Linked DNA regions of Homo sapiens: all the other regions are linked to region 6. Evidence: promoter capture Hi-C in 16 types of primary human blood cells and fetal thymus (Javierre and others, 2016). All regions are on one chromosome and are shown on one strand. The core of a region is centred on a gene start or on the middle of the fragment in contact, and the rest is flanking DNA. Distances in the headings are between cores, read along the strand shown.

What was found. The method cuts DNA at HindIII sites, captures the fragments that hold promoters and counts their contacts. A CHiCAGO score of 5 or more calls a contact.
Region 1: a fragment that was not itself captured here is called in contact with the fragment with the promoter of PNMA3 in region 6 in 12 of 17 cell types (naive CD4 T cells, naive B cells, activated CD4 T cells and 9 more); the score reaches 11.1 in naive CD4 T cells.
Region 2: a contact is called between a fragment that was not itself captured here and the fragment with the promoter of PNMA3 in region 6, in 11 of 17 cell types (naive B cells, naive CD8 T cells, non-activated CD4 T cells and 8 more). The highest score is 11.4, in naive B cells.
Region 3: a fragment that was not itself captured here is called in contact with the fragment with the promoter of PNMA3 in region 6 in 10 of 17 cell types (total B cells, M1 macrophages, naive B cells and 7 more); the score reaches 11.4 in total B cells.
Region 4: a contact is called between a fragment that was not itself captured here and the fragment with the promoter of PNMA3 in region 6, in 10 of 17 cell types (total B cells, M1 macrophages, M0 macrophages and 7 more). The highest score is 10.7, in total B cells.
Region 5: a contact is called between a fragment that was not itself captured here and the fragment with the promoter of PNMA3 in region 6, in 11 of 17 cell types (M1 macrophages, naive B cells, naive CD4 T cells and 8 more). The highest score is 11.0, in M1 macrophages.
Region 7: a fragment that was not itself captured here is called in contact with the fragment with the promoter of PNMA3 in region 6 in 10 of 17 cell types (non-activated CD4 T cells, M0 macrophages, activated CD4 T cells and 7 more); the score reaches 10.2 in non-activated CD4 T cells.

The regions. Positions count from the first base shown.
Region 1 is chrX:153,451,689-153,455,235 of GRCh38, forward strand. It overlaps HAUS7 (HAUS augmin like complex subunit 7), which reads right to left. Exons shown (of 10, transcript NM_001385482.1): 9 at 2,706-2,820. Among named protein-coding and RNA genes, the nearest start is that of TREX2, 7.4 kb to the left of the region's middle. The HindIII fragment of the contact is 3,762 bases long and covers 417-3,547 here.
Region 2 is chrX:153,434,608-153,437,979 of GRCh38, forward strand. No RefSeq gene overlaps it. Among named protein-coding and RNA genes, the nearest start is that of TREX2, 9.8 kb to the right of the region's middle. The HindIII fragment of the contact is 2,740 bases long and covers 521-3,260 here.
Region 3 is chrX:153,505,487-153,509,148 of GRCh38, forward strand. It overlaps BGN (biglycan), which reads left to right. Exons shown (of 8, transcript NM_001711.6): 4 at 377-590; 5 at 1,043-1,153; 6 at 1,344-1,437; 7 at 1,561-1,699; 8 at 2,762-3,662. The coding sequence ends at 2,959. Among named protein-coding and RNA genes, the nearest start is that of ATP2B3, 10 kb to the right of the region's middle. RefSeq lists enhancers at 1,952-2,051, 2,132-2,181. The HindIII fragment of the contact is 3,973 bases long and covers 1-3,237 here.
Region 4 is chrX:153,525,354-153,528,760 of GRCh38, forward strand. All of the region lies in intron 2 of ATP2B3 (ATPase plasma membrane Ca2+ transporting 3), which reads left to right. Among named protein-coding and RNA genes, the nearest start is that of ATP2B3, 9.4 kb to the left of the region's middle. The HindIII fragment of the contact is 1,210 bases long and covers 1,133-2,342 here.
Region 5 is chrX:153,475,562-153,479,186 of GRCh38, forward strand. It overlaps a transcript of HAUS7 not described here. Among named protein-coding and RNA genes, the nearest start is that of HAUS7, 6.8 kb to the left of the region's middle. RefSeq lists enhancers at 414-953, 1,149-1,649, 1,650-2,150. The HindIII fragment of the contact is 880 bases long and covers 1,127-2,006 here.
Region 6 is chrX:153,054,279-153,057,719 of GRCh38, forward strand. PNMA3 (PNMA family member 3) reads left to right here and starts at 2,192. Exons shown (of 2, transcript NM_013364.6): 1 at 2,192-2,360; 2 at 2,672-3,441. The coding sequence starts at 2,778. The HindIII fragment of the contact is 3,087 bases long and covers 619-3,441 here.
Region 7 is chrX:153,546,462-153,549,444 of GRCh38, forward strand. ATP2B3 (ATPase plasma membrane Ca2+ transporting 3) reads left to right here. Exons shown (of 22, transcript NM_001001344.3): 9 at 1,374-1,538; 10 at 2,179-2,393. Among named protein-coding and RNA genes, the nearest start is that of ATP2B3, 30 kb to the left of the region's middle. The HindIII fragment of the contact is 4,010 bases long and covers 1-2,983 here.

The DNA.
Region 1 (3,547 bases), core at 1,048-3,547, 400 kb after region 6:
GGGCAAACAAGAGACTAAACAAGAAGCTCAGGAGAGGCTGGAAAATCAGATGTCCACAAAGGCTCTGGAAAGCTCTGGCACAGTCCTGGGAATCTGGAAGACCATGGGTGTGTGCCGGGCTGTGAAAATCCCAGAGAGAGAGACCTGAGAAGGCCCTGATCTCTCACCTCTGGCTGACCTTGAGGCTCTGAGCAAGCAAGATGTGAAGGAGAAAGAGCTGTCAACTACCTGGCTGAGTGTTGATGAAAAACATGAATGACGACACATTTACAAAGCTCAAAAAGCTCCCAATGGAATAAATTCACAGTGATTCACACGAAGACAGATTATAATCAAACTGTCCAAAGCCAGGGACCAACAGAATTTTGAAAAGAAAGTGAAGAGACTCATCATATACCAGCTGGCTTCGCATCAGAAGCTTTGGCAGCCAGAGGACACTGAAATGACACATTCAAAGTACAAAAGAATTCTATATTCAGCAAAACTATCCTTCAAAGATGAAGGAGAAATGAAGACATTCCCACATAAAAAATGAGGGAGTTCATCACTAGTGAGCCTTCCCTACAGGAAATACTAAGGGTAGGCCTCCGGGATGGCATGGAAGGACACTAGACAGTAACACAAATCCACATGAAGAAATAAAGAACTCCAACAAAGGTAACAACATCGATAAATATAAAAATGTGTACCAATGTACACATTTAATACAGCTTCATTCTAATGGGCAAAGTTTTTGTATACAACTGAAATTAGTTTGGTAATACACTGTTTTCAGTTAGGATGCTAAATGCAATTCTAAGGACAACCACTTAAAAATAACTTTTAAAAGAAGTGTTAAAGAACCAACAAGGGAATTAAAATGGTGTACCCACAAATACATTTTGCTTTAATAGGAGGCAGTTTCTGTATACTATTGAAATTCATTTGGTACTAGACTGTTTTCAGTTAGGATGCTAACTGTAATTCTAAAGCCAACCACTTAAAAAATAACTTTAAAAAACAGAGTTAAAGAGGCTGGGCGCGGTGGCTCATACCTATAATCCCAGTACTTTGGGAGGCCGAGACAGGTGGATCACCTGAGGTCAGCAGTTCGAGACCAGCCCGGCCAACATGGCAAAACCCCATCTGTACTTAAAAATACAAAAATTAGTCAGGCGTGGTGGTGAGTGCCTGTAACCCCAGCTACCCGGGAGGCTGAGGCAGAATTGCTTCAACCCAGGAGGTGGAGGTTGCAGTGAGCTGAGACTGCACTCCAGCCTGGGTGACAGAGCGAGACTCCATCTCAAAAAGAAAAAGAAAAATACGTTCACACAAAAGACTTACGATGTACATAGCCAAAAAGTAGAAACCCACATCTACCAACTACAACAAAATGTGGGATATCCACACAATCAAATATTATTCAACCATGAAAAGGAATGAACTACATGGATAACCCTTACAAAACTTTATGCTCAGTGAAAGACACCAGTCACAAAAGGCCACACATTGTTATTCCATTTATAGGAAATGTCCAGCACAGGCAAATCCATAGAGACAGACAGCGTCTCTATGACAGTGGTTGCCAGGAGTTGAGGCTAGGGAGGGATGGGGAATGGCTGCTAATCATATGGGGTTTCTTCTGGGGGTGATAAAAATGTTCTGGACTCAGATAGTGATAAGAGGATGGTTACACAACTCTGTGAATATCCTAAAGACCATGAAATTGTACACTTTTAAAAGGGTAAATTTTATGTTATATGAACTTGAATTCAGTAGAGCTGTTATTTAAAAAATAAATTAGAAGAGGTAGAAAACTGGCTTTACCTTCTTTCTTTGGGTTTATTTTGCTGTTTATTTTCTAGCCCCCTGAAACGTGGTATTAGTGCAGGGATAGCAAAAAAAAAAAGGAATAGAATGGAACAGAGGAGAACCCAGAAACCCACACATAACATATGGATACTTAATAATTACCAAGAGTGATGGTATTGCAGATCAATGAGAGAAAGAGTGATTTCCAGTCAATGGTGCTGCGACAAATGTGTATCCATATAGGATACGAGGAAACTGGATCCCCACCTCACTCCATATGCAAAAATCAACTCTGAGAAGATGGCCCTCATTATAAGCCTTTTCCCATTTTCCTTAAGTAACTTTTTTTTTTTTTTTTTTAAGACAGGGTCTGGCTGTCACCCAGGCTGGAGTACTGTGGCGTGACCTCAGCTCACTGCAACTTCCCTCTCATGGGCTCAAGTGATCCTCCCACCTCAGCCTCCCAAGTAGCTGAGACTGCAGGTGCACGCCACCATGCCCAGCTAGTTTCTGTATTTTAGTAGAAACGTGGTTTTGCCATGTTGCCCAGGCTGATCTCTATGCTCAAAGTGGTTCATCCTCCTCTGCTTCCCAAAGTGCTGGGATTACAGGCATGAGCCACCGCGCCTGGCCCAAGTTACATTTTTAATTGTCAAATACTATTCCATTCAGGCATTTGTTATCATTTGCTTCACATTTTCTATTACTGAGTTATCTCAATTTTCTACGATGAGCGTTTTCATTTGATAATCCGCTGAAAGCATTTTTTCAAGTGAAGGAAAACATGCATTAGAAAATGAAAAACAAAAGAAGGGGCCGGTCCCCAAATGCTCCTCCAGGGCTAGTGGAGCACAGAAAAGGAAGCCTGTGCGTGGGGCAGCCCCAGGCAGAGGGCCAGGTGGGCAGCCACGTACCTAGACTCATGACGGAGCTGCTGCCACCCCAGCAGATCTGCTCGCCTTGCTGCTTCTTCACGGTCTCCACGGCCTTCGCAGAGGTGTCAGCAACTGCCATGACCACTTGCAGCAGCTGGGGAGGGAGGGAGGGAGGGAGGGAGGGAGGGAGGGAGCGAGCAGGCACTAAATGCCGCTGGTCTCACGTAGCGACGGCATCTCCTGCTTCCCACCCCCACTCACACTGATCAGGTGGCATTCACCTGAAAGACAGCCAAGGGTGAGGGACAGAACTCCCAGCGGGGAAGTCACCAATCAGAGTTCTCGGACCTAAGTCCCCTCTTCCTGGCCCAGTGGGGATGCCACACTCTCATGTCGCTCTGGCAACCCTCGATGCCTAGGGACATGCCAGCCAGCACTGCGTGTCCTCCCAGCCCCAGCAATTGGCAAGGGGGGAAAATAAATGTCCCAAGAAAAATGGACAGGAGAGGGCTGTGGCCTCACCATCCCTGATCGAGGGGTCTCACAGGACCAGCCAGTCAGAGGTTGGAAGGCTCGGAGCCTCTCGCTTAGAAAACCAAAATGAACATCACGGAATCCTTGAGCCAAGGGCAGAGTTGCGCACGTGGGAACTGTAGTCATCGTAACTAAAGCCGGCTTTTTAGGTTGGCCTCTGGGGATCTCACATGTGGAACAACGAAACAAGCAAACATTGACGAGCCCACTTCCTCTCATCCTGTCTGAGCAGGCTCATGGGCAGACAGGCAGGCATTTGTCTGCCTGTCTGGCACAGTTCTTGGTCATCCACAAGAATGAATGGACCTTGCTATTTTGGAGCGTAACGTGACAACAGTGCGGCCAAC
Region 2 (3,372 bases), core at 641-3,140, 380 kb after region 6:
TGTGACCAAGCAGGTTAGCTTCAAAATGCATTTTGATACTCGGGAGGCTGAGGCAGGAGAATGGCGTGAACCCGGGAGGCGGAGCTTGCAGTGAGCAGAAATCGCACCACTGCACTCCAGCCTGGGCGACTGAGCGAGACTCTGTCTCAAAAAAACAAAAAACAAATGCATTTTGAAACTTCGTCTTTCCTTTCTTGCTTTCAGCCTTAATGTACTTTGAAACTCCTTGTTTCCCTCCCTTCCCACCAGACACTCCCTTGCACTGCTCACTCACCTAATTTTGTGCTTACTTAGTAGTTCCAGGGCGCTAATCTTGAGACAAACCAAGCATGGAAATCTAGCTGTGAAATTCCAGGCGGTCAGTCTACAACCCAGCCATCGTAGAGATGATGCCAGCCCGTGCTCCCAGTGGACCATGACTCAAGATAGCCAAGGGAACAAGGCACACAGACCTTGTGCCCAGTGCCCCGCCTGCATGTCTCCCATTCCAAGCTCCCTTTTACTCCTCTCGCCCACATAAAGCTTGAGATGGTTCCTCTGAGGCTTGAGCCTGGCCAGCCCGGCCATTCTCCCACCTGCTAGCACTCGAGTAAAAGCTGCTTTCGGCCAGGAGTGGTGGCTCACGCCTGTAATCACAGCACTTTGGGAGGCCAAGTTGGGTGGATCATTTGAGGTCAGGAGTTTGAGGCCAGCCTATCCAACATGGCGAAACCCTGTCTCTACAAAAAATACAAAAATTAGCCAGGCATGGTAGTGCGAGCCTATGATCCCAGCTACTCAGGAGGCTGAGGAAGGAGAATCACCTGAACCCAGGAGGCGGAGGTTGCAGTGAGCCGAGATTGTGCTACTGCACTCCAGCCTGAGTGACAGAACAAGATTCTGCCAAAAAAAAACAAAAAACAAAAACGGCTTTCCTTTCACCACACCTCGCTTCTTGTATTCTGGCCTCCAAACAGCAAGCAGCCAGACTTGAGTCGGTTACATTCTGCAAACATCTGCTCACTGCAAAGCTGCAAGACCAAACAACCCCTGCAACAGAACAGAGGCCTCAGAGAGGAAGGGGCGGTGGGCAGCCACCTCACAAAGTATGCGCTCAATTGAAATAAGTGATGACAGAGGGGCTGGCTGGGCTGGCTGTAAGGATCAAGTACAGATTCGTGGGTGTTACGCACGAAGAAAATTCCAGAGAACAAAGACCAGACCGTGCTATAGTGACTGGGAAGGTAAAGTTTATGCATCAACCTGGCCAGTCTACAGTACCCAGTTTTGGTCAAACACCAGTCTAGATGTGGCTGTGAGGGTGTTTTTAAATAAAATTAGTATTTAAATGAGAAGACTAAGTACAGCAGATTGTTCTCCATGCTGTGGGTGGGCCTCATCCAATCAGTTGAAGGGATTAAGAGAAAATGACTGAGGTCACCCAAAGAGGAAGGAATTCTGCCTCCAACTCGAGCCTTTGGACTCAAACAACTCTTCCCTGAGTGTCCAGTGACTTGCCAACCTCCATGTCACGTGAGCTGATTCCTTAAAATCTCTCTCTCTCTACACACACACAAACACACACACACGATATGATATATATCATATACATGGTGTGGATATAATGTGTATTTTTGGTGTGGTTTTTTGGGATTTTTTTTTTCTTTTTTGAGACCGAGCCTTGCTCTGTTGGCCAGGCTCACCACCACACCCGGCTAATTTTTGTTGCATTTAGTAGAGACAGGGTTTCACCATGTTGACCAGGCTGGTCTCGAACTCCTAGCCTCAAATGTTCTGCCTGCCTCAGCCTCCCAAAGTGCTGGGATTACAGGCATGAACCACAGTGCCTGGCTATAATATGTATCAAGTATTTGTCAGTATATATGTGTCATGAGTATATGTGTGTTAGAGCGTGTGTATATATATATGTGTGTGTATTAATACAGTTGTAATGCAGTAAGCACAAACACACAGCAACTAAATGCATAAAGAAAAATGACTAGACATGAAGGAAGACTTCAAGAAAATGCAATTACAATGGAATGTTCTAATATATTGTCATTAAATCAGACAGATATAGTCAACAAAAAAAAAAACAAGTAAAAATGTAAAGGAAATTGAATAGTACAATTGTCAACTAGATTTTAGAGATATATAGAAAAGCCTGCATCTCTGAAGCAGGTGCATTTTTCAGAGTCTATAACATATTTTACAGTTATTTATGTATTCGGCCTCTGTTATCCATTGAATTGTGTCTGCCTCCCTCCTCCCCCTAAAAAAAGATATATTACAGCCCAAACCCCCAGTACCTCAGAATGGAGCCTTATTTGGGGATCTTCACAGAGGTAATCAAGTTAAAATGAGGTCATTAGGGTGGGCTGTAATCCAATATGACTGTGTCATTATAAAAAGAAGAAATGTGGACACAGCGCCTTGTATGCAGGGAGAAAGAGGGCTGTGTGAAGATGAAGGCAGAGATTGGGGAGAGGCTGCCACAAATCAAGGAACACCAAAGATGGCCAGCAAAGTCCCGGAAGCTGGGGGAGAGCCTGGAATAGATTCTCCCTCACGGCCCCCAGGGGGAACCTTGCCCTGCCAACACCTCGATCTCTGACTTCTGGCCTCCAGATCCGAGAAACAGTCCATTTCTGCTGTCGAAGCCCCCTAGTTTATGGAACTTTGCTATGGCATCCCTAGAGAACTCAAGCAGCCCCCAAACTACCTTAATTCGAAAAGGTGATATTTTAAGCAACACATCCTCAGATTATTATCCAATACAACTAAAATACACAACAAAACATGACTGGCTGGGTGTGGTAGCTCATGCCTGTAATCCCAGCCCTTTGGGAGGCCGAGGAGGGTTGATCACTTGAGCTCAGGAGTTCGAGACCAGAGGGAAACATGGCAAAACCCCATCTATACAATAAATACAAAAATTGGCAGGCTGTGGTGGCGCATGCCTGTAGTCCCAGCTATTTGGGAGAATGAGGTGGAAAGATAGTTTGAGCCCGGGAGGCGGAAGTTGCAGTGAGCCAAGATTGCGACAGTGCATTCCAACCTGGGTGACAATGAGACCCTGTCTCAAAAAAAAAAAAAAAAAAAAAAGATCATGAAATCATAATTACTCAGAAATTAAGATAAACTGCAGTATATAAGCATGAGATCAAGAAGGGAATGGAAAGCAAAATTACAAGCTATTCCTAAAGCAAAGCAAAGAAGAATGTTTAATAGCAAACCTATAGGACACAGTAAAATCTGCATTTAGCGATAATAAAGTGTCAAGCTTATTGATAGATACAATTTCAACACCAAACGCATCACTGGCCATAATGTTTAGGGTACAGATTGAATACACACTTTAATTTAAAATACCCGAATCACTCAAAAGATACT
Region 3 (3,662 bases), core at 1-2,500, 450 kb after region 6:
ATGGGAGCTCCCGGGTTTGCGGCTCACTCATGTGGGTTTGAGCAACCACAGCTGCAGGACCGGATCGCTCAGTTCGGCTCCCTTCGTGGCTGAAAACGTTTCATCACGTCCACTCCTCCCAGCAACAGAGGAGAACGGATTTCATTGTAGCCAGTGTGCGTGTGAGGAAACTGAGGCTTGGAGCGGCAAGGCAGTGGTGGCACTGCTGGGGCTCAGGACCGGGCCTGGGTGCTGCCTCCTGCCCTGCACTCTGCTCACAAGCATGGACTGAACCTCCTCGAGGCCCAGTGGGCTGGGGAGGCACAGGAAGGCAGGAGAGAGGGGCGGGTGGGGTGGGGAGTCTGTGCCTTCACCTCCTCCGCCCACCCTGCTTCAGGCCCTCGTCCTGGTGAACAACAAGATCTCCAAGATCCATGAGAAGGCCTTCAGCCCACTGCGGAAGCTGCAGAAGCTCTACATCTCCAAGAACCACCTGGTGGAGATCCCGCCCAACCTACCCAGCTCCCTGGTGGAGCTCCGCATCCACGACAACCGCATCCGCAAGGTGCCCAAGGGAGTGTTCAGCGGGCTCCGGAACATGAACTGCATCGGTGAGCTGAGGGCCTCCCAGAACATTCCAGAGCCTTGTCTCGAGGCATGGGGAAGGGAGACCAAGGGATACCTTTAGAGGCTCAGTTCAAGAAAGAGTATGGTGAGAACGGTCAAAAGAAAATCCATGGATTTCTTGGCAAATCCTCCATGCAGGCGATCACCACGGCTAAAGAGAAGACTGGGCCAGAGGGGCCGGGTGGCTTCCGGGAGCCCCATCTTCATCTCTGGCACTCCTCCCTTTCCTCTTGCTGCCCCTGGAGCTAGCAGTCCTGGGGCTAGCAGTCCTGAACAGCTAGGAGTTTGCAATTAGCCCGGTAAATTAGCAGAACTGCTTTCAGGAGACGGGAGCAGCCGGCAGGTAGCAGGGCCCACCACACTGGCCCGGAAGTGACAGGACCCAGGGCTGTGCAGGGACCACCAGGCTCCCGGGCTAATGAGGTCTCTCCCCTAGAGATGGGCGGGAACCCACTGGAGAACAGTGGCTTTGAACCTGGAGCCTTCGATGGCCTGAAGCTCAACTACCTGCGCATCTCAGAGGCCAAGCTGACTGGCATCCCCAAAGGTAGGAAGCCCACTCTTCCTGCACGCCTGCCTGCCTCACCCCCAACAGCACAGATGGCCAGGGTGGGGGCTCTGGATGGGCCCGATCTACTCAGGGAAAGGCTCAACAGTCCCCTCCCGCCACCTGGGGCAGAGCTAGGGCCCCTGCCCTCAGCACCTGCATTCTCCCCTGTGCCCTCTTCTCCTGGCAGACCTCCCTGAGACCCTGAATGAACTCCACCTAGACCACAACAAAATCCAGGCCATCGAACTGGAGGACCTGCTTCGCTACTCCAAGCTGTACAGGTGAGGCCAGCAGGGCACCGCCCAAGGGTGATGCCAGAGTCCCTCAGTGCTGTGTGGCCCCTCGCGCCCAGCCCCCCATCCTTACCTCCAGCCTTTGAGTCCGTGTCATTCTCCCGCTCACAGGCTGGGCCTAGGCCACAACCAGATCAGGATGATCGAGAACGGGAGCCTGAGCTTCCTGCCCACCCTCCGGGAGCTCCACTTGGACAACAACAAGTTGGCCAGGGTGCCCTCAGGGCTCCCAGACCTCAAGCTCCTCCAGGTGAGAGCTGGGCATGCACAGCCAGGTTCCCTAAGGCTGGGCTGGGGGAGGCGTGTGTGTCCCCGGGCAGTCCCTCAGTCCCCTGGCCCTCCTTCCCGACCGGCTCTGGGCATCTGCAAGGGAGCGGTCCTGATGCTCCCAGCTGGTGCTGAGGAGGCAGGGAGCAGGGGCTCCATGGTGGATACCGAGCAAGGCAGCCTGGTAGCTCTTGGACCCGAGGGTCTCCAGGTGGGTCGGACACCAGAAAGATGTGGCAGAGTCCAGGGAGTCGAGAAACTGTGGGCGTGGGAGTGCACAGATCTGTGCCAAGACAGTGACCGCCCAGGGCAGGAAGTAGGCTGACGAGGGGGAGCAGGGTCTTGCCTGGGATTCTATCGGGAGCTTCCATCCCTGGCCTGGCCCGCAACCAGGTGGGTGATCTTGGTCTTGCCCAGCCCTGCTCCATCCACAAGTGTTTGGAGCACCCCCATCCGCACCAGCTGCGAGCCAGCACCGCGCAGGCCATGCCCATGCTGGGCCGAGTGCGCCCTCTAGTGGCCATTGTCATGTTCACCAGCACTGGGCTCCCAGCCCAACCCAGCAGGCGCCTCGCCTGCCCACCTCCGCTCCTCCCAGAGACAGCAAGACGGTGGCTCCAGAGAGTTGGAGGGGCTGCTAGAGGGCGAGCTCCTCTGCTGACTGGAAGAAAGAGGAGGGCATCCCAAGGGCTCTTTCTCCTCTCATGCCCCATGGAGTGTGAGGGTGCTCCCCCGAGGCTCAGGCCACCTTTCCTCCACCTCACACCACCAAACACACCTCTACCCCAGCCCCGCCCCCACATGTCCTCAACCTGACCCACCTGAGACCCTCATCCTTGTCCCTGGTCACATCCAGTGCCTTAATCCTGGCTGACACCCACACAAATAACACGCCCATGCCTTGGTTTGCTCCTCCCAACAACGGGGAGCCTCTGGTGTGGCCCTTGAAGTAGGGTGCAGAGGCAACAGCAAAATGCCTCCTGGAGGCAGCGGGCTTGGCGTGGAGGGAGGGAGGCCTGCCGTGACCCGGCCTCTCTGCCTTCAGGTGGTCTATCTGCACTCCAACAACATCACCAAAGTGGGTGTCAACGACTTCTGTCCCATGGGCTTCGGGGTGAAGCGGGCCTACTACAACGGCATCAGCCTCTTCAACAACCCCGTGCCCTACTGGGAGGTGCAGCCGGCCACTTTCCGCTGCGTCACTGACCGCCTGGCCATCCAGTTTGGCAACTACAAAAAGTAGAGGCAGCTGCAGCCACCGCGGGGCCTCAGTGGGGGTCTCTGGGGAACACAGCCAGACATCCTGATGGGGAGGCAGAGCCAGGAAGCTAAGCCAGGGCCCAGCTGCGTCCAACCCAGCCCCCCACCTCGGGTCCCTGACCCCAGCTCGATGCCCCATCACCGCCTCTCCCTGGCTCCCAAGGGTGCAGGTGGGCGCAAGGCCCGGCCCCCATCACATGTTCCCTTGGCCTCAGAGCTGCCCCTGCTCTCCCACCACAGCCACCCAGAGGCACCCCATGAAGCTTTTTTCTCGTTCACTCCCAAACCCAAGTGTCCAAGGCTCCAGTCCTAGGAGAACAGTCCCTGGGTCAGCAGCCAGGAGGCGGTCCATAAGAATGGGGACAGTGGGCTCTGCCAGGGCTGCCGCACCTGTCCAGACACACATGTTCTGTTCCTCCTCCTCATGCATTTCCAGCCTTTCAACCCTCCCCGACTCTGCGGCTCCCCTCAGCCCCCTTGCAAGTTCATGGCCTGTCCCTCCCAGACCCCTGCTCCACTGGCCCTTCGACCAGTCCTCCCTTCTGTTCTCTCTTTCCCCGTCCTTCCTCTCTCTCTCTCTCTCTCTCTCTCTCTCTTTCTGTGTGTGTGTGTGTGTGTGTGTGTGTGTGTGTGTGTGTGTGTGTCTTGTGCTTCCTCAGACCTTTCTCGCTTCTGAGCTTGGTGGC
Region 4 (3,407 bases), core at 488-2,987, 470 kb after region 6:
GGCACAGGGCGTGACCAAATGGGAAGGGGCCCTTTCTCCAGGTTGGACCAGCCCGGCAGTAACCGCTTGGCTCCCTCAAAGAGCAGCAGGAGCAGGAGAGTGTGTCCAGCCCCAATTCTCGGGCAGAGCAAGGGCTCACCAGGCACAAGGGTCCATTCCGCCCCCCACCATGGGCCTCAGCTCCATTTCTCCTGGAAGCATCCAGGACCAGACACTGCCACATCTTGGCTTGGAGCCACAGGCCCAGGAGAGATGGGCTCAGGAGCAGCTGGTCCTGGCTCCTCTGGCTCCTGGGGTCTCTGGGTACCTTCCTGTAGTCAGAGGGCGGCTGCCAGCAGATGGTCCCACGTCTGGTGCAGGAGAAGAGGGAGGGCTGTGGACGGGTAGGGCACGTCTCCCACCTAGTCTCATCTCTCCCTCCTGGCCTGTGGTTCATCTGCCCACAACACTGTGACCAGCAGCTAGGCTTGGAAACCTCTGTCCTGGGGAGTGGAGCAAGAGTCCCCCCTTGTAACCCATCCATGGGGCCAGAGGGTAAGAATGCGCTGACCTGGGGGCCACTGCCCCAGACGCCTGCCCTGGTAGCCCCTAGGGAGGCACTCGTGGCTGTGTCTGTAGGTGGGATGGGGTGGGTCAGGGCTCCCAGGCCACCGCCTGGCCCTCTGCGCCCCATCCACCCTTCCCCGAAGGAGGAAGCTGGGCTATAGCACAATCGTGGGAGGGGGTATCTGAGATGGAGACGGGCAGGGTTGGGGTCTCCCCTAAGGGAGGAGGGGAGGGGGTGAGCACACAGAGCAGAAATCCACCCCTTCAGGTCCTGTCCCCAGCCCAGCTGTGCTCTCCCGGTGCCTTCCCAGTGGGGAGAGCAGGCATCTGTCCATGAGCACAGAGGGGGCGGGAGGAATGGTGCTGATGACAGATGATGATAAGAGGGTCAGGAACTGGAGGAGCAGCTGGTGGTGGGAGGGTAGGGGGAGCTGATGGGCTGTGGGGCGCACTGAGGGAGAGACTCGGAGCCCTGTGTTGGTGTTGGGTCCCGGCCTGAGAGGGGGCCTCTGCCTCTGCACTCCCTTCAGGCACTCCTGGAGCACGGCAGGAACTTGGTGGTGCTTCCTCTGGGCTTTGCTGGAAAAGCTTTGGGCTCGTATGCCGGGTTCCTCGCTCAGAAATAGTGTCTTAGGCAAAATTCAAAAATGAACCAGCAATGCTCAGTTCACGCGATTCAGACAGCAGCCAAGCCCTTGATGACCTTCGCGTCCTGCAGCCTCGGCTGCAGCTTCTGAGGTACCCTCTCTCTGGGCATCCTCGCCACTGGCTCTTCCTCCATCACCACATTTGGCAGCAGGCATCCTGCCCCCTCAGCTGGGGAGAGTGGCACGGATACTTCGGTGTGCTCGTTCCTTGGGTCTAGATCACAGAAGGGCAGGCTTGACTCCCATCTTCAGTTGGAGCCCCCATTTGGAGGTCTGCCTCCCAGATCCTTTTATTGGCCTCTGACCTTGACACCAATGCATCCCCCCAGCCTGTACTCCCAAGGACTTTGGCCTGCTTCCAGAAACCAGGATGCCCTCTCTACTGCCCCTGCCAGGATTCCTAATGGGGCCCCATGGGACTCGTTCCCTAGGAGGACACGTGTATGTGTCCTGGTAGCTCCTTATTTAGTCACTGCCTGTCCAAGCTGGAAGGACTTAGCCCAGGGCCCACAGCCCCATGGCCTCCAGCTGCCTGTAATTTCCTTAATTACCTATTTAGGCCCCGACGGCTTCCGGTCCTCAGAGCTGGCTCTGAGATTGGAAGCGGGCTGGGACGGGCACCGAGGTACCACAGCAGAGCCGGGCCGACTTGGGGCACCTCTCCTCCCATCCACGTGCTCTCTGGCTATGAAGGGCTGGGAGGACAGGGACCCGGCTTCCCATTGGACCCCAAACACGAGGTCTCCGTCCCTTTGTAGGCTAGAGTCTTTCACGCTGGCCACAGCCACAGCGTTTCTAGGTCCCCATGCCGTCCCTGCCTTCGGGGCTGCTGGGCAGGCCCGGGCTGGCAGGAGGGGCGTGGGGAGCACGTAGGGGCAGGGTAGTGGCTGGCCAGGCTCACGCTGCTATGCAGCTCGCACACCCGCTGTAATTGGATAATTAGTGTCATTATGCTTCCTGCTCCCTCGCTCTCTCCTTCTGCAGCTCTTGCCTTCTCTGGCAGGAAACAAATGACTGTCCCCCAACCCTCAGTGTAGACTTCTGGCCCCAATCACAAAGGGGCTTCCAACCTCCCCGTGGGATCCAGGGACACCCAGCATTGTGAGGGCCGCCTGTGTGGGAGACAGGAGCACTGCGGGAGTCCGGGCAAGCTTGGGGAAGCATCCAGAGAGGCACATGGGTTCAGCCCCCGGCCGAACGGAATGTTCTGACTTCACCGGTCGAGCTTGGTCCTGACCTGTGAACTCTGGGGTCCAGCTGGAGTCCAGCTGAAGACTTCAGGACAAGCCTCGGGAGGGGAGCGTGTGGCGGGAGGGGCTGACTCAGCGAAGAGCATTGCCCTGCTCGGCTTCCTGGAGATCTCCTGGGCTTGAAGGAACCTCCGGGAAAATGGGCCCAGTCCCCTGGGGACCAGCCTCAGGGTGTGTGGGCAGGTGGAGCCCTGCCTTCTCACCAACCCAGCAAAAAGGAACGAGGACCATTTCGCAGATTAAAAAGTGAAGGCCCAGAGAGCTTGAGTGACCAAAGCCAGCACCTGCACTCTGGAACCCTGAGGTTGATGGGGACAGATTTCCTGTCCAGTCACTTTGCTGAACTCTTTTCATTGGTTCTAATCACTTGCTCGTTGCTTTTCTGGGCTTTTCAGGGCAGTATAACTTGGCAGAGCAGCAATGTCGAATCCTCTGGAGCTAGACCACTTGAGGTCCTGTTGGCCTCTGCTTCTGGCTTGCCGTGTGACCTTGAGTAGGCTCTCTAACCACTCTGTGCCTGAGCCGCATGTGCTCTTTGGTGGGGAGGGCCACCCCATGCTATAGAGGCTGCTGGCAGAGTGATAGTCATTCTGCCTCTCATCCGTGGCTCTATCATCTCCCTTCTGCCTCAGCTAGAACTTCTAGGACAATATCACCCCCCAGGGAGCTCAGGGGAAAGTGGGGGTTTGGTAGGTCCTGGAGACCTCAGGGAGGCCTCCTGGCTCTCCCAGAACCAGGCTGGATTTGGGTTAGGAGTGAACATTTACTCAGGCTATGGGCTTGGCCTATCTAACAGAGACCCAGCATAACAGTGGCTTCAGTGAGAGAGAATTGACTTCTTTCTCATGTAAGAGTCTAGGTGGGCAACCTAGGGCCAGCGCAACAGCTACTTAGCCCTCAGGAATCTGAGCTCCTTTGATTGTGTCATACATGGACTCCATGTGCAAGATGGCAACAGATAGAT
Region 5 (3,625 bases), core at 317-2,816, 420 kb after region 6:
CATGGAAAATGGGGCTTTTTTCTTCTCCAAGCTTTAAGGGGGAAAGGCCCCATATTGTTACTGACATATAAGATAGCTGCAGGCGCATGTCCCCAGAGAATGCCACCCATGTGCCACACACTGCTGTCGTTTTCACTCAGACAACATGTGGAAAGCTCAAGAATGGGCCTGTTCCTTTTCTCTGGGGGTCACCCCAAGGCTGTGTCTCTGGCTGCCCTGGGCCCTGGGAAAAGGACAGGCACGTAGTAGGTGCTCCTGCAGAGAGCAGGAGAGCAGGAGAGCAGGAACAGCCCCCAGACCTTGACCCTGAGGCCCAAATGCTCCTGACCCCACCCGCTCCTCCTCGCAACCCCGCCTCCACCCTTGGCCAGCCACTATCACCTGGCCCCTGGCGGGCTCAGCTGCCACACGGTGGCTCCCACCTCCTACCCTTATGCCCCCAGTACATCTGCTCGTGCTCCACCCCACAGCCTGAGGGGGGCCGGATCCTGTGACTCCTCTGCTTAGCAGTCCAAGGTGGCTCCCTGATTCTTTCAAGGACAAAGGCAAGCCAGCCCACCGCCACAGACACCTTCCCACGGCTCACTCAGCCTGCTCCACCACATTGCTGTCATTGCCAATGCTCAAATTGGGCCCAACCCTTTCTCACCTGGGGCCTCTGCACTGGCCATCCCTCTTTTTCGGAGGGCTCTTTCTGTGGCTTTTTGCATGGCCATGGCCTCTTCACTCATGCCTCTGCCCAAATGTCACTTTCTCACGGTCCTCACCTGATCCCCTGTCAGTGAGCAAAGAATCCACTGTCCAGTCCTCGTTGATGACAGCCTTGAGGGACAAACAGCATTGCTTTGGCATCCTCCAGGCTACCAATCTGAGTCCCAGCTTGTAGAGGGTATGTGTGTGCATGAGTGTGTGAAGAGTGGGCTACATGGAAGGGAAGGGGGAGGAGGACAAGGGACAGGAGTCCCTTCCTTGACCTTAGAATCCTGGGATTGTACAACTAGAAGCGACCTTGATCATGTAATCCAGCTTCTCTAGGCGCCTTCTGGCTCTCAGATTCTAGAACTTTCTAAGGAGCCTGTTTCCACCATACTGAAATGAGAAGACTGGGGCACTGAGGAGGGAGGGAAGCTTGTTCCTGATGTCACATGGCCAGTCCGTCCATGGCAGAACTGGGAGCCCAAAGCTCTTTCCAGCAACCCTCGGGCTGCATCCCTGGTTCCTGGAAAATCCCAACAGCCCTCCCACCCTCTGCTCCAGACACCGGGCTCGGGATTACTGTTGGCTTGGGGCCTGCCTGTCTCAGCACAAGTCCGTCAGTGAGCTCTTGGGCGGGGGGGAGGGCAAGGCAGAAACTTGCCGGGAGCCTCTGGCTCTGCTGAGCCCCTGAAGGCTGGCTCTGCTCCATGGGGGTTCCTTCAAGGTCCCCACAATGGCCGGGTGCCCTGGGACTGGACAGAGTGGGCAGCAGGAGTACCACTCCCCAGGGGCCCACCCAGGTCAGCCACCAGGCTCCCGACCAGGGGAAGGGCAGCGAGGCCAGGCCTCCATGGGAGCTGGGAACTGAGAGCACCCCAGGCCTCACCCCTTCCTGCCTAGGTGGGTAGGAGCGGAGTCCCTCCCTCCTCCAGGCTGGCTGTGCCAGAGAAACCTGGGAGCAGGCTTCCCCCACCCCCAGCCCAGCTAATGGGAACCAGATGGCAGGATGTTTAGTCAGCGCCTGGGGAGCGGCGCAAACAGGGGAAATGGGTAGGGGGCCAGGATTCCAGAATCCATCCCCAGGCAGGGGGAGGGGCGGAGCCGGGGTTCCCATCACCGTCCAGTCTCCCGACCCCAGGTGCTAGGCTCAGCTCAGGCAGGGACCTACCCCGTTTCTCAGGCGATGCCTGGACCAGGAGGCAGGAGGACTGGCCTCTGGTATCGAGACTTGGGTGAGCCCCACTCCTTCTCTGTTCCTTCTCTGTAAAATGGGGGGTCGACTGTGCTCTGTCTTGCAGGATCCTGGGGCAAGCTTCACTTAGTCTTGGCAGCATACTTCAAGTCTGCCGTGCCCCAGTGCTACCCTGTCCCAGCTTCGGCAGCTGCCCCCAGGCAGGACACTGGCCCACAGCCATCCTGTGTCACCCACAGGACGCACAAGGAGATGGTGGCCTCATCCCTGACTCCAGAGGCATTTGCTGACTCCCTAGATGGTCCCTGTTTCTGGTCTGTACGTGGCAGGGTCCAAATTCAGGTCAGAAACCAGAGCCCTGGATGGCGAGGGTACCCTGGATATAGCAGAGGACCCCATGTGGCTCCTACGGGACTGTTAGCTGGAGCGGCAGCTCCTCAAGGAGCCCAGTGAAGACCCAGTTGCCAGGCCTCCTCCCCACCTTGACCAGCCCTGCACCCCTCTGGATCTCACACATTGCCTCATTGCCCCAGGATGGAGACTCCTGCCTGATGGCCCTTGCCGGCCCCTGCCCCTCCTCCACTGCTTCCCTTCTCCCCTCCACCCAAGCCTTGCCCACAATTAACTCATTTCTTAAGATCGCTTCCAAACCTAAGTCAACGCTGGACAGGGCTGTAGGAAAAGCTTCCTCAATACTGGCCCTGAAGAGCCGAGCCAGCGGTGAGATCAGTCCTCTCTGCCAGCCCCCGCCTGCCTGCTCCCACAAACCCTGGCTCCCACAGCAGAACGCGGGGTTGGGGCTGCAGGGACACCCCAGTTGGAGCAGGGACTTCCGGCAGCCCTCTGAGGGTGGCGGGCTCTAGGAACTGGAGCCAGACACCCCCTTATTTGCCCCTCACTCCACCACACGCCCCTCTGGCCCCACCCAGCAGTCCCCTCATCGAGCCCAGCCTATTTTCCACCTCATGTCATCCTGACCCACAGGTGCCCCTCTGACCAAAAGGATGCGTGCAGCCTAGGCACATCAGAGATCCCAGACTGTTGGCCAAGAAGTCTGGGGGGGACCTGTGACATGGCTTCACCCAGGCAGTGCCTGGAACACCCATGCTCCTATGTAGGGGGTCGGGACAGCCACAGAACGTCAACTCTGCCCCCTACCCCATTTTACAGAGGAGAAGGTAGAGACCTGGAGGGCAAGCAGAGGAACCAGGAGCCAGCCCAGCCCGAGGCACACCCATGCCCAAGCAGCACTGGGGTCTCAGGCACGGGAGGCATACCCTCGCCGCCTGCACTGTGCCCACAGATTCTATTTCCTCTGGAACCCGGAGGCCTCCACAGTGCTGCCCACGGCAGAAGCCCACGGCCTTGGCACCCACCCCCTCTCCTTTCGCAGCCATGGATGCAGGGCCCAGCAGCCTGCGGTGGCCGACCCGCTCTGTGGTGGGCCTCTCAGGCCTGCCACGTGTGAGACAGAAGCCCCATTCATGGAGGCCACTGGGCCAGAGCCAGCGGAGAATCAATGCGGGCCTCACAGCAAAAGGGCAGGACCGTCCGGTCTGAGGAAAGGGCAATCTGTCTTTCTCTTCAGGTGGGAGCAGTGCACGTTGTGGGGAGTTGGGGGCAAGGTCGGGGGAGGCGTTTGCTCGACAGAAGGGGGGCCTTCCCAGGGAAGGGCTGGGGTGGGCAGGGAAGACTCCAAGTGCCGCAGCCAGGGCCAGGAGCTCAGGGAGCAAGACC
Region 6 (3,441 bases), core at 942-3,441:
TTTTATGTCTTCATCCAGTTACTACATTCAGGAGTACTGGATGTACTTTTTAAGTACGTTTTGTATGTTAAATATTGCAGAATGTATTTTATAAAGTATTTAATTACCAGAAACTCTTTAAAAAATTCCCAGGCCTGTTTCAGACTCAGCAGATCAGATTGCAGAGGTGGGGCCCATGAATCTGCCCCTTTTGTGACCCCGATAGTCACTACTGGTCTAAGCCAGGGCAAGGCCACCCCGGTGGAGGTTGCTTCCTTCATGCTGTATTATGTTTTTCACTTTACAAGTAATAATGTTTATCCATCAGTTCCCCAACTTTGGTGCTGCTGTGTTATCTACCATGCAAGGAGATGGGGAAGCAAAAGTAATTAAGACATTTCCACTGGTTTCAAGGGCAAAGGTTAACTCCAATATAAAGGAGTTCTAAAACTTTTCAAATTGGACATATTCACATCTATTGTCTTGATACCAGTGTTTCCAAATCCTTTTTTCCCAATGCCCAGAACATCCACAGATCACTGCGTCTGTCTGGGAACTTCACAGGCTTCTTTCCGGAGACATTCCAGACACGCCCCTCTGCCTTGGCATGAATACTTGGCATCTCCCCTTGACATCTCAAGCTTTGTCATTTACTCACTGTGTGACCTTGGGCCAGTAGTGTCCCTTCTCTGAACCTCTGTTTCCACCCCTGCAAGTTGGGCAGATGAAGGTTCAGTTTGAAGCTGGTTGAGCCCTTGGAGTGACAAAGCAAGGGACTGTGAATGGACAAAAATGAGAGAAATAAATTCTAATAGGCATGAAGCAACCAGGGGAGAAATAGTCCCAATTCTACCCAAAGACTGATGGGCACTAATTTAGAATCCAGTCTCAATTCTACCTTCAATACGGTGTGTGACCTTGAAAATGTCTCTTAATCTCTCTGAGCCTCATGAGTCAAATCAGGATAATGTTAATACCTGCTTCAGAGTTCTGGTGAGGAGCAAATGAAATAACTCCTGTAAAGATGTTTCAGGAATTCTGTCTGACCAGGAAAAAGCCCTTGGGGCCATTTCTTCTTGGTCCCTGACAAGTGCCAGGCTGACGAGCAGAACTCAGGGTGGGGCAGGAAGTCAGTGGACAGTTTTGTGCCCCACTCACTGCAAGGTGGCCTCCCAGACTTGGCTGGATGGGTGAACCTGGCCTGAAAATCAACCACAAGCCCCTTTTCGTTGTGTTTGGAGAGGAGCTGAAGCTGTGTGAATAGGAGTTGAGCATGCGGCTGGCAGAGCAGGCAGGACCCACAGAACACCTGGGCCCACTGCCTGAGGGACAGTCACTCCCTTCTTCATTTGGCTGCTGCCCTGGGATCAAACGGATACAATAGAACCCACGGCGCACGGCTGCCAAGGAAGGGCAGGCCCAAGGGATTGGGCTCCAAGTCCTGGAAGTGGTTTCCCAAGTCACTAGATTTGCAGCGCACAAAACCGGAAAGGTCCCGGTAAACCTGTCCACTGGCACCTGGGCAGCGAAGCGCTTTGGCCGGAGGGCCTCAGGTCCCAGCAGCGGGATGGACAGCGGGGAGATGGCTGACCCTCCTTGGGGTGGTGTGCGTGACCTGCATGAGTGCCTGGGGCATCTCCTGCACGGAATGGCACCCGCACCAGGTGCCCCTGGCCTCGCCAGCCAGAGGACCAGTCCTGGACGGGGAGGGGGAGGACAAGAGCAGGTGAACAGGCCCCAGAACCCGGCTCCCTGACCCTGGCCATAATGCAGAGCTGCCTGGCGCACCTCAGACCACTCCCTGGCCCTCTGGTGGGCACGCCGGGGTGCAGACCCCTCGCCCCGCTGGCACCTCCGTGGCACGTGCGGGAGGGGCAGGAGCCGGGACCAGGAACCGCTGTGGTGAGAGCCAAAGGCACGGGGACTGGCCGCCACAGACCTTTGGCCACCGCAGTGGGGATGGGGGTGGGCGGGCGCTTGTGTGCCCGGGGGCCCGGGGGCCCCCGTGGCGGGGGGGCTAGGGGAGAGGAGCAGGTGACGTCACCCGGGGACCTGGGGCCCCCAGGGGCGGCGGCGAGAGCCCGACCTCGTGACCCGTCCGCGCCAATGGCCCTGCGGTCTCCCGGACGACGCGGAGGGGTCCGCGCTGCACCGCCGCCGCGCCCCCGCCCCGTGTCCGCACTGCAGAGAGCCGCGGCGAGCAGGCGCCGGCGCACTGGCCCACGTGCTGCGCGAGCGAGGGAGAGCCACAGTCTGAGCGAACGTCCGCGCTGGGAGCCAGGGGTGCCCGACCCCCGTCCGCCGCCGCCGCCGCCGCCGCGCATAGCCCCCGGAGAGCCCTCTGGGGACCCCGACCAGAAGGGACCTTGCCCTGGGAGAAGGTAACAGACCCACCTGGGGAGGGAGACGCTGGGCCCCGGGAGACTCCGCCGCCCCTCGCCTGTCCGCCCTATCAGAACTGAAGCAGCCTGCAGGGCAGGGGTCCAGGGTCCTGGGGCAGCGCGGGGAGGGGGCTGAGGCCCGCAGAGACCCCACGGGGGGTGGGGGTGGGGGGCTGGGCAGGGGCGGGGCCTGGCTGCAGAGGCGCCGCCCGGGGAGGAGGGCGGCTGGGGGTGGGGGTGGGGGTGGGCGTGGATGTGGGCGTGCGGAGAGGTGGGCATTAACCTCGCTCTCGCCCTGCTCGCATTCACAGGCTGTGGAGACCTGGGCCTTCTGCGATCACCCTAGGAGTTGATCCAGATATGTGCCTCACGCCCTGATCACTCCCCCCAAATTAGTATCCGCAGAGATTCGAGGACATGCCGTTGACCTTGTTACAGGACTGGTGTCGGGGGGAACACCTGAACACCCGGAGGTGCATGCTCATCCTGGGGATCCCCGAGGACTGTGGCGAGGATGAGTTTGAGGAGACACTCCAGGAGGCTTGCAGGCACCTGGGCAGATACAGGGTGATTGGCAGGATGTTTAGGAGGGAGGAGAACGCCCAGGCGATTCTACTGGAGCTGGCACAAGATATCGACTATGCTTTGCTCCCAAGGGAAATACCAGGAAAGGGGGGGCCCTGGGAAGTGATTGTAAAACCCCGTAACTCAGATGGGGAATTTCTCAACAGACTGAACCGCTTCTTAGAGGAGGAGAGGCGGACCGTGTCAGATATGAACCGAGTCCTCGGGTCGGACACCAATTGTTCGGCTCCAAGAGTGACTATATCACCAGAGTTCTGGACCTGGGCCCAGACTCTGGGGGCAGCAGTGCAGCCTCTGCTAGAACAAATGTTGTACCGAGAACTAAGAGTGTTTTCTGGGAACACCATATCCATCCCAGGTGCACTGGCCTTTGATGCCTGGCTTGAGCACACCACTGAGATGCTACAGATGTGGCAGGTGCCCGAGGGGGAAAAGAGGCGGAGGCTGATGGAATGCTTACGGGGCCCTGCTCTCCAGGTGGTCAGTGGGCTCCGGG
Region 7 (2,983 bases), core at 453-2,952, 490 kb after region 6:
CTGACTCACCTGAAGCTCTGGGTCCCAGTCAGTGTGTTTCCCAGGCCAGCTTCCTTTCAGCCAAGCCTGAGGACCTGGGAGACAGAGTGGTCGGCTGAGGGCCAGAGGCCCGGCTCTCCTCTCAGCCCCGGACAGCTGGCAGGTGCCGACACCCTGGGGCCAGCATGAGCCTGGCTGTGAGACGCAGGAAGCAGGAGAAGGGGTGGGAGGAGCGGGGAGGAGGCCAGCCGTGGCCCACGGAGGACAGGAGATGTCGGCCAATGCAGCAGCCAGCTCTAGGTGCTGGAGTCCATGGGGAACAAGGCAGGTCCTGACCCTCAGGAAGGTCACAGGCAGAGATGACCCAGGCAACGCCCTGTGCGGAGCTGGGTTTGGGAGGGCAGTGGGGGGACAGCCCGATGGCTGCAGCCCTGGGTTGAGGAGGTGGCAGCAGGTGGGGCACAAAGCTGGAGGGGCCCAGCTGGGTGGGGCAATTGTGTCCTGACGCCACTGGGAAGAGGAGCCGTGGCGAATGGCCTTGGGCTGGCAAGTGAGGAGGAGCAGGAGGAGGCAGAGGTGATGGCGGTAGTGCCAAGAGCCCCAGTGGATCGGGGACCAGAGTAGTGAGGGAGAAAGACGAGTCTGCTCTCCCCAGGTCGCTGCGTCGGTCCCGGGGCAGAAGAGGGAGGTGGGGTGGCCAGGATTACTCTGGGCCGTGGAGTGGGTGCGGCCAGAGCTTGGCAGGGAGGGAGATGAGGAAGTGACAGAAGCAGAGGAGTGGGGAGAGGAGGGAGCCGGAGTGGGGGACACACCACCACCATGTCGAGGGCAGCAAGGATGAGGAGCACAGGACCCACCAGGGAAGAAGGGAGAGGAGCCGTCTGCTCCAGGGGAGAGGCAGGGAGGGTGCTGGAGGGACAGATGGAGCCCGAACAGGCGCAGGGCTGGCTGGTGGGAGGAGAGTGCATGGGGCTTCTGGGCCTCCCTAAGGGAGGTAGGAGGTGGCTCGGACACCAGTAAGCAGATGAGTCAGCTCAGGGTTCTGGAAGATTCCTCGGGCCACAGGCCTCTGCTCTCAGGTATTATTTGGGGCATTCCAGGACCAGTCACCCTGTCTGTGTGCCCAAAAGCCTTGTGCTGTGTCTGTCCTCCCTTCTCCCGAGAGAACCATCTCTGTCCCACCTAGAACAGTGCTGGAGCCACCCCACCCACCCCAAGAGGGCCTGGGCTTAGGAGGCGAGAGAAGGGAAGCTGATAGACTTGGAAATAGGAGAGCTCCACTGAATCCCGTCTCCTCTCTATGGTGTGGCATGTCTTTCCCCCACAAAAGCCCCTTATAACGCCTTCTCCCCAGCCAGGCACTGACCTTGGCCATGGGGTTCCTCTGTGTGCAGCTAAGAAGCAGGATGGTGCAGTGGCCATGGAGATGCAGCCCCTGAAGAGCGCGGAGGGTGGGGAGATGGAGGAGCGGGAGAAGAAGAAAGCCAACGCACCCAAAAAGGAGAAGTCTGTCCTTCAGGGGAAGCTCACAAAGCTAGCCGTGCAGATCGGGAAAGCAGGTAGGGACAGCAGGAGGTGGTGGGCCCAGGCCATTGACTGGGCGTGGAGGATGCTGGGCTCCTGGAGATGAGCCCAGGCTGTGTAGAGCAGGTGGGAAGGGATGTGGCAGGTGATGTGTGGGCCAGGCAGGCAAGGGCACAGGCCAGGCCGGCAGTGGCCATCAGGGCCTGGCGCAGCCCTTCCCTAGTGAGCAGAAGTCCCAAACCCTCGACGAAAGCCCGGGTCACACACTGAGCCACTGCCCATGAGGTGCCCCTACCCAAGGCTCCAGGCTCTGCCCCTGGCACCCTCAAAAGGCAGCTGGGGGCATGCAGGGCTGGTACCCCAACTTCTGGGGTGCAGTGGGGGATTGACTCTTGCTAGTCCTCCCCAGCGGTGCTTCTCCTGCCATCAGACCACAAAGTCCACTCCCCAACCCCAGCAGCACTCCAGAAGAGGCCACACAGAGCCCCCTTGCAAACAGGCCCCAGCTCACCTGCTGAGCCAAACCTGGGCTGTTTATCCTGAAACGCAAGGCAAATCTACAAGGCCTTCACAAATGCCTCCGAGACCGTGTCCATACCTCTTCTTCCCTCTTCCTGTCCCCCTCCTTCCCTCACCCGTGGCAACCCCTTTCGTCTCCTCCCCGCTCTGTGGCAGGGCTGGTGATGTCTGCCATCACCGTCATCATCCTGGTCCTCTACTTTGTGATTGAGACGTTTGTCGTGGAAGGCCGGACATGGCTGGCAGAGTGCACGCCGGTCTATGTACAATACTTCGTGAAGTTCTTCATCATTGGTGTCACTGTGCTGGTCGTGGCTGTCCCAGAGGGCCTGCCTCTTGCTGTCACCATCTCCTTAGCTTACTCTGTCAAGGTAATCATAAAACTTACAGTTGATACTGTTTACAGACTCGGAAACTGGGGTAAGAAGTCATTGGGCGCCTTGGTGGCAGTATAAACTGGGGACGTTTGGGATAGCTCAAGGGAGGAGAGGAGGTGCCGAGCAGGGACCCAGGGGGCAGCTTTGCTGATCTGTCAGCTCAGGTCCCTCGGCATGAGATGGGCCAGAAAGCAGGCAGGCGGTGAGATACCCAGGGGTTCAGCATCTGCACAATGTGGGCAGTAGGACGGAGGGGCTGGGAGGCAGCGGGGAAGCGGAGAATCAGCAGAGGGCCCGGGACACTGGGAGGCAGTGGGAGGAGGTGGGGGGAGCCAGGTGTGGGGTGGTGGGGTGGTGGGGTGGTGGGGTGGGAGAGCTGCAGGGCTGGTGGGTAACTGAGAGGGGGCTCGGGCAGGGGAGGTCCCGGGTGCGCATCCCGCCCCCACCATTGGATGAGGTTGCTGATGCCTTACAGCCTCGCTATTGGCTCAGGGCTGACCAGGTGCCCAGTGGGCTTAGTGCCACACGTGGAGCTAGCTGAGCAGAACAGAGTCACGCGATGTTTGTGTTGACATCTCTCACTC